2 separate regions of the Homo sapiens genome follow, and region 1 is linked to region 2. Evidence: promoter capture Hi-C in 16 types of primary human blood cells and fetal thymus (Javierre and others, 2016). All regions are on one chromosome and are shown on one strand. The core of a region is centred on a gene start or on the middle of the fragment in contact, and the rest is flanking DNA. Distances in the headings are between cores, read along the strand shown.

Region 1 (6,231 bases), core at 156-2,655, 180 kb before region 2:
CTCCAACTCCTGGGCTCAAGTGATCCTCCCACCTCAGCCTCCCAAAGTACAGGAATTACAGGTCTAAGCTACCATGCCTGGCCACAGTCATTTAATTAATTATGTAAGATAATTATGCAAAATGTGTTTGGGGCCATGTCTAACTTGTTCACCACTGTGTACCCACCATCTAGTGTACAGAAGACACTCAAAAATATTTGCTGACTGGCTGATTGACTTCTTGCCTTTTGGGGCAAGAATTGAATTTAATCCTAGTTGTATGAGTTGAACTCACTTTGAATCTGTGATAAACTATTACTTATTTCCTAAAGATGACTGATTCTTAGTTTTTTTTTTGTTTTTTTAATTTTCTAGTTTTTATTTATGAAGTTAATTCCCTCAAACATTAAGCTAAGTGTGAAGTGCAGTTTTTAGTAAGCTTGCTTATTAGTTAAAAATGGACAATAAACATTTACATTCATAAATATTTCTCTTTTTTTCTTTTTTTTTCATTTTATTGTTATTTTACTTTAAGTTTTAGGGTACATGTGCACAACGTGCAGGTTTGTTACATATGTGTACCTGCGCCATGTTGGTGTGCTGCACCCATTAACTCGTCACGTAGCATTAGGTATATCTCCTAATGCTATCCCTCCCCCCACCCCCCTCCCCTCTGGTTTGTTTGTTTTTAAGAGTTGCATGCAGGCCAGGCGCAGTGGCTCACACCTGTAATCCCAGCACTTTGGGAGGCCAAGGCAGGCAGATCCCCTGAGGTCAGGAGTTCTAGACCAGCCTGACCAACATGGAGAAACCCAGTCTCTACTGAAAATACAAAATTAGCTGGGCGTGGTGGCACATGCCTGTAATCCCAGCTACTTGAGAGGCTGAGGCAGGAGAATCACTTGAACCAAGGAGGTGAAGGTTGCAGTGAACCGAGATCGAGCCATTGCACTCCAGCCTGGGCAATAAAAGCGAAACTCTGTCTCCAAAAAAAAAAAAAAAAAAAAAAAGAGTTGCATGCATCCAGGAGCAGTGGCTCATGCCTGAAATCCCAGCACTTTGGCAGGCCAAGGTAGGCGGATTATTTGAGCTCAGGAGTTGAGACCAGCCTTGGCAACATGGCGAAACCCTGTCTCTATAAAAAATACAACAAAAAAAAATTAGCTGGATGTGGTGGCACACACCTGTTGTCCCAGTTACTTGAGGGGCTGAAGTTGTAGGATCACTTGAGCCCAGGAGGTTGAGGCTGCAGTGAGCCGAGATTGTCACCCAAACTGGGTGACAAAGTGAGACCCTGTCTCAAAAAAAAAAAAAAATTGGATGCAAGAGTTTAGGAGCAAAAAGAAAGAGCTATAAAGATTTTGTGTGTGGGCAGACCTGTGACACTTCAGACCGAGGTGACCCAGTGTGGCCTGAGATGGGGAGAGGCCTCTTCTCCCGCTCTTTAATTAAAACCAATCTGTGACAACTGAAGCCTCATATAGCTTCGCAGGCATGGACATGGGTTCAGGAAGAGCCAAGCCAGAAGTGAGTAGTAATGGTAGACAACAAGACCAACAGATGGAGTAGTTTACAAGCACGTATGAAGACTTTGGTCACTCCCAGAAAGAAAACAGAAGACAGGGACTAAGGTCCAGCAATCAAGCTCCAAGTCAACTGATTCACTCTCATTTGGGCATTTGATATTACCGTGAGCTTACTGTCTCTCCAGGACCACTAGAGCCTGGACACTCTGGTTAATACAAAATAATTACATATACCTCCTAATAGAAGCACATATAAAGCCCGAGTTATGACTCTACTAGTTACGCTTCTCTATCCCGGCACTAACCTTTTCCGTATTTGTTTTCATGAGTTTCATGTAGGAAACTGTCAAAATTATTCGAACAGATAGATTCCACATAGGCACGGCTTGTCGCATAAAATAGGAGTTTTCCTTCTTCCTTCATCTGCGATTTCTTCCTAATATAAGAGATGTGAGACTTAACACGGAGACATCCCCTTCCCACTCCAGTTGATAACATTAATCCCAGCTAAAGTCTAATCATCTAAAAATTTCACTCCATCAGCTTTCACAACGGAGCTACTAACTTTAAGGCAGCAGCTGTACAATAATAAATTTATGAAAACTTTTAAAAGATAGACACATGAAATCATTGAATTGTAAAGCAGTAAGGCTGAGAGAGAGAAGCCAGAGTTGATAGAATGAAAAAAAAAAAAAAAGACTAGCGCCTAAAGGAACTGTTAACTACTAAAATAAATCAGTGAATATAAATCTCAAAGGACGGATATTAACTAATCCTTTCCGGTTTTATGTAAAGAAACACGATAACGTGGCCACCAACCATGTAAATTTATCCAGGAGCTCTGAGTTCTCGATCTTCTTTATCTTTTCAATCTTGAAATTTTTCATGGAAGCTTTAAAATGCTCACTTACTCTGACATATTCTGGATGTAGGTGATGGATCTCTGACAACTAATAAAGTTTAAAAATAGATAAATGTGAAATAGGAAACATTTAAAGCATGATACATCCACATATGTGCCCCCTTATGCCATGAAGTATTGTTACCAGGGTTCTTTCTAACAGCAGATAGGATGAGCTGGCTTAGGGTTCCCACATCTGCCAACTCATTCCCGTAATTAATCAGAGAGGCAGCGGGCCTGTCTGTCCAGGCCAACTGAAAGCTAGCAAAGCACTGTGCCTAAGGGAAAAGGGAAGTCCCCTGCAGTCTGAGTTAGTCCAGTAACCTCTTCCCAATGCAAGGGAAGAGGAATTGAGGTGCCATGCAGTCCAAGCAGACCAGCCTGCACAAAAGCTGAAGCCAGCATGGGGAGGCTAAGCAATCTAGGAATAGTTGTGATCCAACTAGGTTAAGTGACACAGTGAGGCACAGTTTGTTTGACTCCCATAGAAACTTGTTAATTGTAACTAACGGACAAGTCACTTTTACTCTGTGAGTTCTAGTTTTCTTGTCCATAAAATAGAGATGTTAATATCCATTTCACATGGCTGTTGCGAGGATCTGCCCAAATGAGACTGTGTGTGGCTGAACTCTGGAAACAATGAGGTGCCTTGTAGCAGTTAGGTGATCTCTGGGAAAGAGAACCATTAGATGACTGCCTTTCTACCTTGATCTAAGAGTGTTTGTTGTTGTTGTTTGTTTTTTGGAGACAGAGTCTCACTCTGTCGCCCAGGCTGCAGTGCAGTGGGCAGGAGTGCAGTGGCGCGATCTCGGCTCGCTGCAACCTCCGCCTCCCGGGTACAGGCAATTCTCCTGTCTCAGCATCCCAAGTAGCTGGGACTACAGGCTCATGCCGCCATGCCCGGCTAATTTTTTTGTATTTTCGGTAGAGACAGGGTTTCACCGTGTTGTCCAGGCTGGTTTCGAACTCCTGAGCTCAGGCAATCCACTCGCCTCGGCCTCCCAAAATGCTAGGATTACAGGGCTGAGCCACTGCACCCAGCCGATCTAAGAGTTTTGCGGGAGCAATTCATTCATCCAGACAAACACATACACTTGTAGCAAAGTACTTTTTCTAACTTTTAACAGACTCATCCACCAAACATGTAAAACCAAGTACCTTATATTTCTTTGAGGATAGGAAGCAAAAGTCCTCCTGAGGACGAAAGGTCGCAGTTAAAGACACTGACGAGGTCTTTGCTGGCTGATGGCTACAAATAAAGAGAAAGAATTCACTTAACTCTCTGCTCCACAGGCCCAAGTGATGTTTTCTCTTAACTTCCAGCCACTAGGCCAAGGATGCCTAGAGAAATACACAATATTTATTTCTGTATTTTTCTCTGGACTACATCCTCACATATTCCTGGTATAGATGTACCAGTAATCATGTCTTTTAAAAATGCTGCAACTATTCATAATCGGTCAATTAAATGCCATTTTCCTATTGACTTAAAATGTAAAAGTATTGACTCTTTTTTATATTTCTGCTCAACTTTCAAAGGTCCTAATGTGTTAGCATTAAGCAAATGTGTCTTACAGCTTCTTGGTCAAAGGATAAACGATTAAATATATTAGGAATTTAGAGGAAAGAATTCTGCCTTTCCAGTATGAACTGTATTTCAGGGTAACCATACCTGAGAAGTAATTTTCTTTTTCTATCCCATAGAGCTAAAGCTACCAGAAAAATTCTTCTTTATAGATGAATCACACTAATAGTTGCAAAAGAGTTGATAGAATTAGAAAACCACCATTTGGCAATACTTAATGACATCATGGTTCTAAACAATCATTATCATTAGCTACTAAAACCATTAAGTGAAAGATCAGATGAATAGTATAGTGGAATGATCAGACTGGAATGACCTGAACCTACTCTGTGATCTCCATCACTAAAAATAGGACAATCAGACACTGTATATCTCTTCATAAGATGGGACAGAACCACTGGTACGAAGCCATCAATTGTATAGCATACTTGACTCAAAACTGAACCTAAATCTAATCAGTTCCCTAAATCTAATGATCAATTTATAGAAATTACACATCAAATGACCCCATGAGGAAACAATTTGCTAATCTGTTTTGAGACAGAGTTTCACTCTGTCACCCAGGCTGAAGTACAGTGGTGTGATCATGGCTCACTATATCCTCAACCTCCTGAGCCCAAGTGATCCTCCCACCTCAACCTCCCAAAGTGCTAGGATTATAAGCATCAGCCAGCATGCCAGGTTAATTTTCTACATTTTGAATTTGGAAAATTCTATAGGTCAAATCACCTAGTCGTTGTTTTTATTGTTTTTTTTTTTTCCTTTTTCTTTTTCTTTTCTTTTCTTTTTTTTTTTTTTTGAGACAGTCTCACTCTGTTGCCCAGGCTGAGTACAATGGTGCAAAGACAGCTCAACCTCCTGGGCTCAAGTGATCCTCCCACCTCAACCTCTTGAGTAGCTGGGACCACAAGTGTGTACCACCACACCTGTCTAACTTTTTAAAAAGTTTTTGTAGAGATGGGGTCTCAACTCACCATGTTGCCCAGGCTGGTCTTAAACTCCTGGGCTCAAGCAATCCTTCTGCCTTGGCCTCCCAAAGTGCTAGGATTACAGGCATGAGCCACCACACCTGGCCTATCTGATTTCTTAAAAATGAAATTGCATGAAAAAAGTAGAGGAGGGGAAACTGTAGTAGACTAAAAGATATTTATGACACAAATCAACCAAACACAATGTACAGACCCTGCTTAGATACTGATTTGCAATACCTCAACTCTAAATAGTCATTGTTTAAGACAATGGGAAAACATAAAACGTGAACTGGGTATTAGATGATATTAAGGAATTATCATTAACTTTGTTACATAGGTTAATGATATTGTATTATGTTTTTTAAAACCTCTTACCTGTTAGGAAGACACCTAATATATATACAGGGAAATGATAACATGTATTGGATTTACATTAAAATATTCCAGCAAAAGAAAAAAAGTTAGGCCAGGTGTGGTGGCTCATCCCTATAATCCCAGCACTTTGGGAGGCCGAAGCAGGAGGATTGCTTGAGCTCTGGAGTTTAAGACCTGCCTGAGCAACACAGTGGGATCCCCCTCCCCATCTCTAGAAACATTTTTTTTAAATTATCCAGGTGTGGTGGTGCACGGCTGTAGTTGCAGCTACTCAGGAGGCTAAGGCAGGAGAATCACATGAATCCAGGTGTTTGAGGCTGCAGTGAGCCATGATCACACCACTGCACTCTAACCTGCATGCAGAGTGAGACTCTTTCTCAAAGAAAAAAAAAATTTAGAGGTGATGGTAGTAACAATATTGTTACCACTACTACAAATACGTTACAAAGATAGTAAAATATTGACAGTGTTTAAGTTGGATGATAGGTACTCAGGGGTTTATTATCAATTCTTTGTACTTTATGTTTGAAATTTTCCATGATCAAAACAATTACATTTTTTTTTTTTTTTTTTTTTTTTGAGACGGAGTCTCCCTCTGTTGCCCAGGCTGGAGTGCAGTGGCGCGATCTCGGCTCACTGCAAGCTCCGCCTCCCGGGTTCACGCCATTCTCCTGCCTCAGCCTCCCGAGTAGCTGGGACTACAGGCGCCCGCCACCACGCCCGGCTAATTTTTTTGTTATTTTTAGTAGAGATGGGGTTTCACCGTGTTAGCCAGGATGGTCTCGATCTCCTGACCTCGTGATCCGCCCACCTCAGCCTCCCACAGTGCTGGGATTACAGACGTGAGCCACCGCGCCCGGCCAACAATTACATTTTAAAAAATAAATGCTTGAA
Region 2 (5,828 bases), core at 1,375-3,874:
TTCTGGAGAAATCCTGATATGTTGAGCTCTTCAAGAGGATTTGAAGACTGCGTCGTAATCAAGAACGTACGGTGAAATTACTGCATGCAGCAGTGTAGAAAAATAGTCCTTTTTAAAAGAATTACAGAACCATAGCTTTATAAATCAGTGGGAAAGTGGCTTACAGAGGGAACTATCAGGTGTGTTTACACTGCATCTTATTCACTTTTTAAAACGGCACTAATGTATTGGCATTGCTATGTTTATATTTAGGCATTCCTTATTTATAGCTCTAATAGCTTTAATTTTCTGAGCAGTCTGTCAGATGTTTATATCTGCTGTGCCTGGGTGAAGTGTGGTGGAACCCATTAGTAATAAGGTGTGGTGGTTATAGGACTTGTTGACGTTCCCTTTATAAACTAATTTTGAATTGTTTATGCACAATAACTATGGATTTATGTTGTACTCTCACAGGATTTCAGCCACCATTTGTGAATTTTGATTTAGGTTCATTATATCAGAATCTTGTTTTTTAAATTAAGAACATGGAAAACATTTCTTGTAATCTACCCTTTAACAAAGAATATATAGTTTTCAAACAGTTTGTTGGGCAGTTAATAGGGTGAACCAGATCATTTTTATTGATTTAAATAATTAACTTGATTAAACTTGGTATTTTATGAAGAGAATAAATTATTACAGCTTAGTACTTCATTTACACAGAGAAATGATTGTCGGGTATGCAATTTATCATGATGTCAGACTAAGATTAAAGAAGAATTTATTACTATGCAGAACATGCATACGCATTATTACTATTCATGACTGCCTATATATCTGAACTAGGGTTTTCAATTTTGATCAGTTTAGAAGAAGAAAAAGATCAGGCACCACAGTGGATCAGATGTTCATGTACCACTGTCCTAATGAATTCTGGAGTGCAATAAACCTATGATCAGGCAAGAACTTCCATGGCATTAAATAAAATCTTTCCTAATTTGCTTCTATATGATGTTAACATTTTTTTCTACACTGTATTATAAAATATTTTATATTAAATTAACTCTGTTGCGTCTGTTGCTTTTACTTTATCCTAAGCAGTAGGTAAGTATTGTGAAACTTATATTTCACATATGCACATATGTGTTATGTATATATGGGTGTATATTCTAGGTTACAGTGTAAAATGTCTTACTGTGGGTTATGGATCAAAAAGTTGGAAAACTCAGTGGGTGAGAAGTTAGAAGATAATGTTGGATAAGTAACACACCTGTAGAAGGATTTGGCCCACAGACCACCAGTTTGCAGTCTCTGAGCTAAATTGTGGAGGATATTGAATATGAGTATACATACATAGAACTCAGTTTGTAGGTAAGTTGCAGCCAGAACAGAGAACGATATAATAAAAACTCTTTTAGAGACATTAATATGACCCCGTCTCAAGACTGGTGGGAACAGAGACTGAAGGCAGAAAGGTCATTTAAGTATCACTAAGGCAATCTAAAAATGAGACCCGAATTCAGAATCAGAAAAGGAGCAATAGGGAAGGAGATAATGTAGGTAAAACATGGCGCCGAGTAGAAAAGATAGGGTTTTAGAGCTGGGAGAGACCTTTGGAATCATAGATTTCATCACCATCTTCGTCCAAGTAGGGAAAGTAATAACAGGAGAGGAAAAAACGGAACCCTCTCAGAATTTGTCAATGACGTCACACTGACTTAATAAAAGAGCTTTCAATAGTTAATGCAATTAACAGAAGGCTTGGATTCCCTTCAGGATGTGAAGGGCGAGCCCTCAAATTTACTTTTTATTCAATGGATTAAAATGGCCAGTAATTCTTATCCTTTTAAACCCGACTTCCAATTAATTAATTACAAGTGAGCCTATGGGGCGTGCCCAATCAATTCCTTCCCCATCCTGAAATGGGTCCTTTAGCATTCTCATAAACAGTACGTTTCCTGAAATACCACTAAACCCTCTTAAGAAGTTTTCTATGATTTCAGCAGTTTAGGCCTTCTGAATGAGCCCAGAACTCCTCATCTGCTTGTTAATTTTCCAACTGCAAAGCGTTATTGAACATTTAATGACCCTGCCCCACGCAACGCCCACTGCGGCCGGGCGAGGGAAACCGGAGTAGGTCGAGGAAGGGGAGGCCTGCGCTTTCGGGAGGGAAGCCGCTGGGGCTAGTCTGGCTGAAGCTGGGCACTTCCTTTTTTCCCTCGATACTTAAGGCTACGGGGACACAGGGCGGGCAGGCACAACGGCTGGCGCGTCTCTCTACCCTTGCCCAGAGTCCGCCTTGAATAATCAGCTAACAACCCCAATTCCCTTGAACCCAGCACGGGAGACCCGGCGCCAATGGCTAGGTCGGTCTCAGTCCCATCCCGATGCTAGCCCCGGGAAGCTCCTGGAGCGCCTCTGGTTTCCGGGTGCGAATAGTAAACTGCTCGGGAAACCCCAGAACCCTCCCTTTGAGGAAGGGTGCAGACGGCGTCTCCGTTTCCACGGAAACAGGCCGAGCCATGTCGTCACTTCCGCCGACCTGTCTGGACTCCAGACTGTTGGGAGGAAAAGAGGAAAACTGAGCAACAGCCACGACAGTGGACGCGAGCGTCTCCTCTGTGCGCATGCGCCCGCTCAGCGGCCTGCTTCTATTTATGTGGGGGATCCAACATGGCGGCCGCGGCGACCCTGGCGATGGCGGTGAAGCCCATCAGAACGTAGTAGCGGGGAAGGGGACACGGTCCGCACTCACCGTGGCGCCGGCGGAGACGGCTGAGGGTGGTGGAGGGAAGAAAAGCGACAGAGAGCAAGAGGAAGGGCGGGCAGGCACGCAGCGCGCCGTAGAAGCGAGCGCCGGCTCGAGCAAAAGCGGAGGGCCAGAACAGTGGGGATGGCGGAGCCGCGCAGAGTAGCGTTCATTAGCTTGTCACCGGTGCGGCGGCGCGAGGCCGAGTACCCGGGGCCCGAGCGTGAGCCCGAGTACCCCCGCGAGCCCCCCCGGCTGGAGCCGCAGCCGTACCGCGAGCCGGCCCGGGCGGAGCCGCCGGCCCCGCGGGAGCCTGCCCCCCGCTCGGACGCGCAGCCCCCGTCGCGGGAGAAGCCGCTCCCCCAGCGCGAGGTCAGCCGCGCCGAGCCGCCCATGTCGCTGCAGCGGGAGCCCCCGCGGCCCGAGCCGCCGCCGCCGTTCCCGCCGCTGCCCTTGCAGCCGCCCCCGCCGCGGGAGTCGGCTTCCCGGGCTGAGCAGCCGCCGCGGCCGCCGAGGGAGACGGTGCGCCTGGAGCTGGTGCTTAAGGACCCCACCGACGAGAGCTGCGTGGAGTTCAGTTACCCGGAGCTGCTGCTGTGCGGAGAACAACGGGTACAGAAGATTCTTCCCTCCTGCCCCAGACCCCGGGAGCCTCAGGACCCGCCGCCTTCCCCAGCTGGTTTGCACCTTGGGACGCCCACCGAGCGCGTCCGGGTCGCCCCGAGGGTGGGGTGCGGGGGGCCGGGGCCGAGCGGGTGGACGGGGCGGTGAGCGCTGCTTTCTCCACTCCCCAGGGTGGCCGAGGCTCTCACCCGGCTGCGCCGAATCCCCAAACCCCCGGCACTCGCTCCCAACGCCGCGCCGAGCTCGTTTTCTTGTGCACCTTTCGGAACCTCAGATTTTCCTTCTTTCCTTTCTGCTCCCCACACAAAATCCTGGGGCCCTGCAGGCCGTGTGGCTGGGTTCTCCCTGTGGCGCTACAGCTGTCGTTCCAGTAGAAAGGAAGAGAAAACCTTGGGGGACACGCCCCCCAGTCTGAAGCAGAGATTGTGTAACCCCTCTCGTATCATCCTCATCCTCATCACTGTTTGTTTTGCTGGGCGCCGTGGCTGCTGAGGTGTGCTTGCGTGCCTGTGATATTTTTCTTAATCGAAGGGAATTTAAGAATAATTAAAGGTTTTCAGAGACTAAGGATCCCACTTTAGGAATGGAGAAGTGGGTTAGTTAATCTGGTTACTAATTTTTCTCTCGTGTTGGTATTGGAAAACCTTTTTAGCTTTCCTTTTTTGTGGAGTTCGTTCATATTGTAATTGAATGGGAAGGTGTCTCCTGTTTTATTTGACACCTACCCGTCATATTATTTAAGTGTACTATCATTAGTTTATAGAAGGATATTGTATTCAGCCTTTGTAATTTTCGGAGGATGATGAAAAAAATGTCAGCTTTGAATTTTTTAAAATAATTGAAAATATATAGGTATGCTTTTGATGTAAGAGGTGAACAATGGAGAAAGGATAGGGGTTATGTTCGTAATTGTAATTTTTATTGTTGTGGGTTGGTGGATCTTCAGAAGTAAGTTAGAAAAGGAAATGATAGATTAACAGTAAGGAAAGAGAACAGTTTTCTCTGTTGCTTAGCAATTATACCCGTTATTAGGTTTTGCTTTAGCTTGAGTCTAATGGACTCCAGAAGTCCCTTGTTTTGTTTTCATCTTCAACTACCTTTATGGTCAAAATGACTGACTGCTTAGTCACAAAGTATCATGTTGAACAATTTCACTAGGTTTTGTTTACTTCATGGCCAGCTAATGTTTTGATCATTATTTAGAAATGTTATGTGGTCAAATCATTACAAAATGTTTTCAACCAAAATGAATTGTTTAAAGGTAGAGATCATTTTGGTCACTTCCACCTAACATTTTGCTCGTCAGACTCACTTGAATGCCCCTTCTTTATAAATCTGAGGTCACTTTTTTCCCAAAAGAATATTAAAAATATTGGATTGGAGCATTTTTCAAACATTGTATTTGAGCTGCTAATCTAAGTTGGTTTGCAGTTTTTGTAATTTTCATAAATTACAGGAGAAAAGCATTATCTTTGGATAAAAATACATAGCAATAACGACATTTACTGGTTCTTACTGTGTGCTAGACACAGTTCTAAGCACTGCACATGGTTTTTCTAGTAGTCCAACAGAACTCCACGAGGTAAAAACTATTATCCTCACTTTACAAATGTATGTAATTTTATTAGTACTTCTTTCCATAGTGATACAATTTGTTAGTAAAACAAAATTTCTTAAAATTAACTCATATAGTTTAGAGGATTCTGCCAAAATGACGTAAAATGTAAGTCGCAGTAGAAATACAAAGACCTTTATTATGTCTCTGTTTATGCTGTAATATTCACACGATGGCAAATTAATAATGTGTATCATTTAATTATAAAAAGAAAAAGGTTTGACACCCTAGCTTTGTTAACTTGATAACACCAGAACTACTACTTTCATGCAATAGGAGAAAGAGGAAAAATTCCATTTAATTTTTCTGTATACTTATTAACAGTATAGGTGTCTATTGGCCCAATTATCTCGTATATCAACCTTCTATTTTTTTCATATACCTCTGAACAAAACAAAATCCATTGTATATAATCACCTTTGCAACAAAGATTTGCCACATTTTCCTGTGATTGCTGCCAGTGTATATCCTTATTATGCAAGAAAGCATAGAAAACATATGTTTAAGTAAAATTGTCATGGTTTCATGAAAGGAAATCCTAGAAGAGAGACCATCAAAAAGCAAAATGCGAACATTAGAATTGGTCTGGAAAGTTGGTGGTTCCCAAAATTAGAAGAATTAGAAAAGGAAGGGCTCCACATTTTTGAAATAGCCATCTATCACTAAATAAGATTTTAGCTCCAGATGCTGAAATTGGTAGATGTGGGGCTATTAAAAAAAAACAAACAACAAAAGGTGTGTTACATATGGATACCATTCATGTGGGTGCATTTAAATCAGTTCCCTTCTTAAATACTAAATGAACAGTAAAACCCTGATTTACTGGAACATAATCAGAAATTTTTCTATGCTCTATTTGTA

What was found. Contacts are between HindIII fragments. The CHiCAGO score rates a contact against its expected background, and 5 or more counts as called.
Region 1: a contact is called between a fragment that was not itself captured here and the fragment with the promoter of UBN2 in region 2, in 1 of 17 cell types (neutrophils). The highest score is 5.2, in neutrophils.

What each region holds. Positions count from the first base shown.
Region 1 is chr7:139,051,641-139,057,871 of GRCh38, forward strand. ZC3HAV1 (zinc finger CCCH-type containing, antiviral 1) reads right to left here. Exons shown (of 13, transcript NM_020119.4): 10 at 3,565-3,655; 11 at 2,325-2,455; 12 at 1,811-1,941. Among named protein-coding and RNA genes, the nearest start is that of MIR10399, 11 kb to the left of the region's middle. The HindIII fragment of the contact is 1,979 bases long and covers 417-2,395 here.
Region 2 is chr7:139,228,613-139,234,440 of GRCh38, forward strand. It overlaps UBN2 (ubinuclein 2), which reads left to right and starts at 2,625. Exons shown (of 18, transcript NM_173569.4): 1 at 2,625-3,340. The coding sequence starts at 2,873. It also overlaps the pseudogene MZT1P2. RefSeq lists enhancers at 2,406-2,565, 2,646-2,785 and silencers at 2,956-3,205, 3,416-3,635, 3,582-3,841. The HindIII fragment of the contact is 12,885 bases long and covers 1-5,828 here.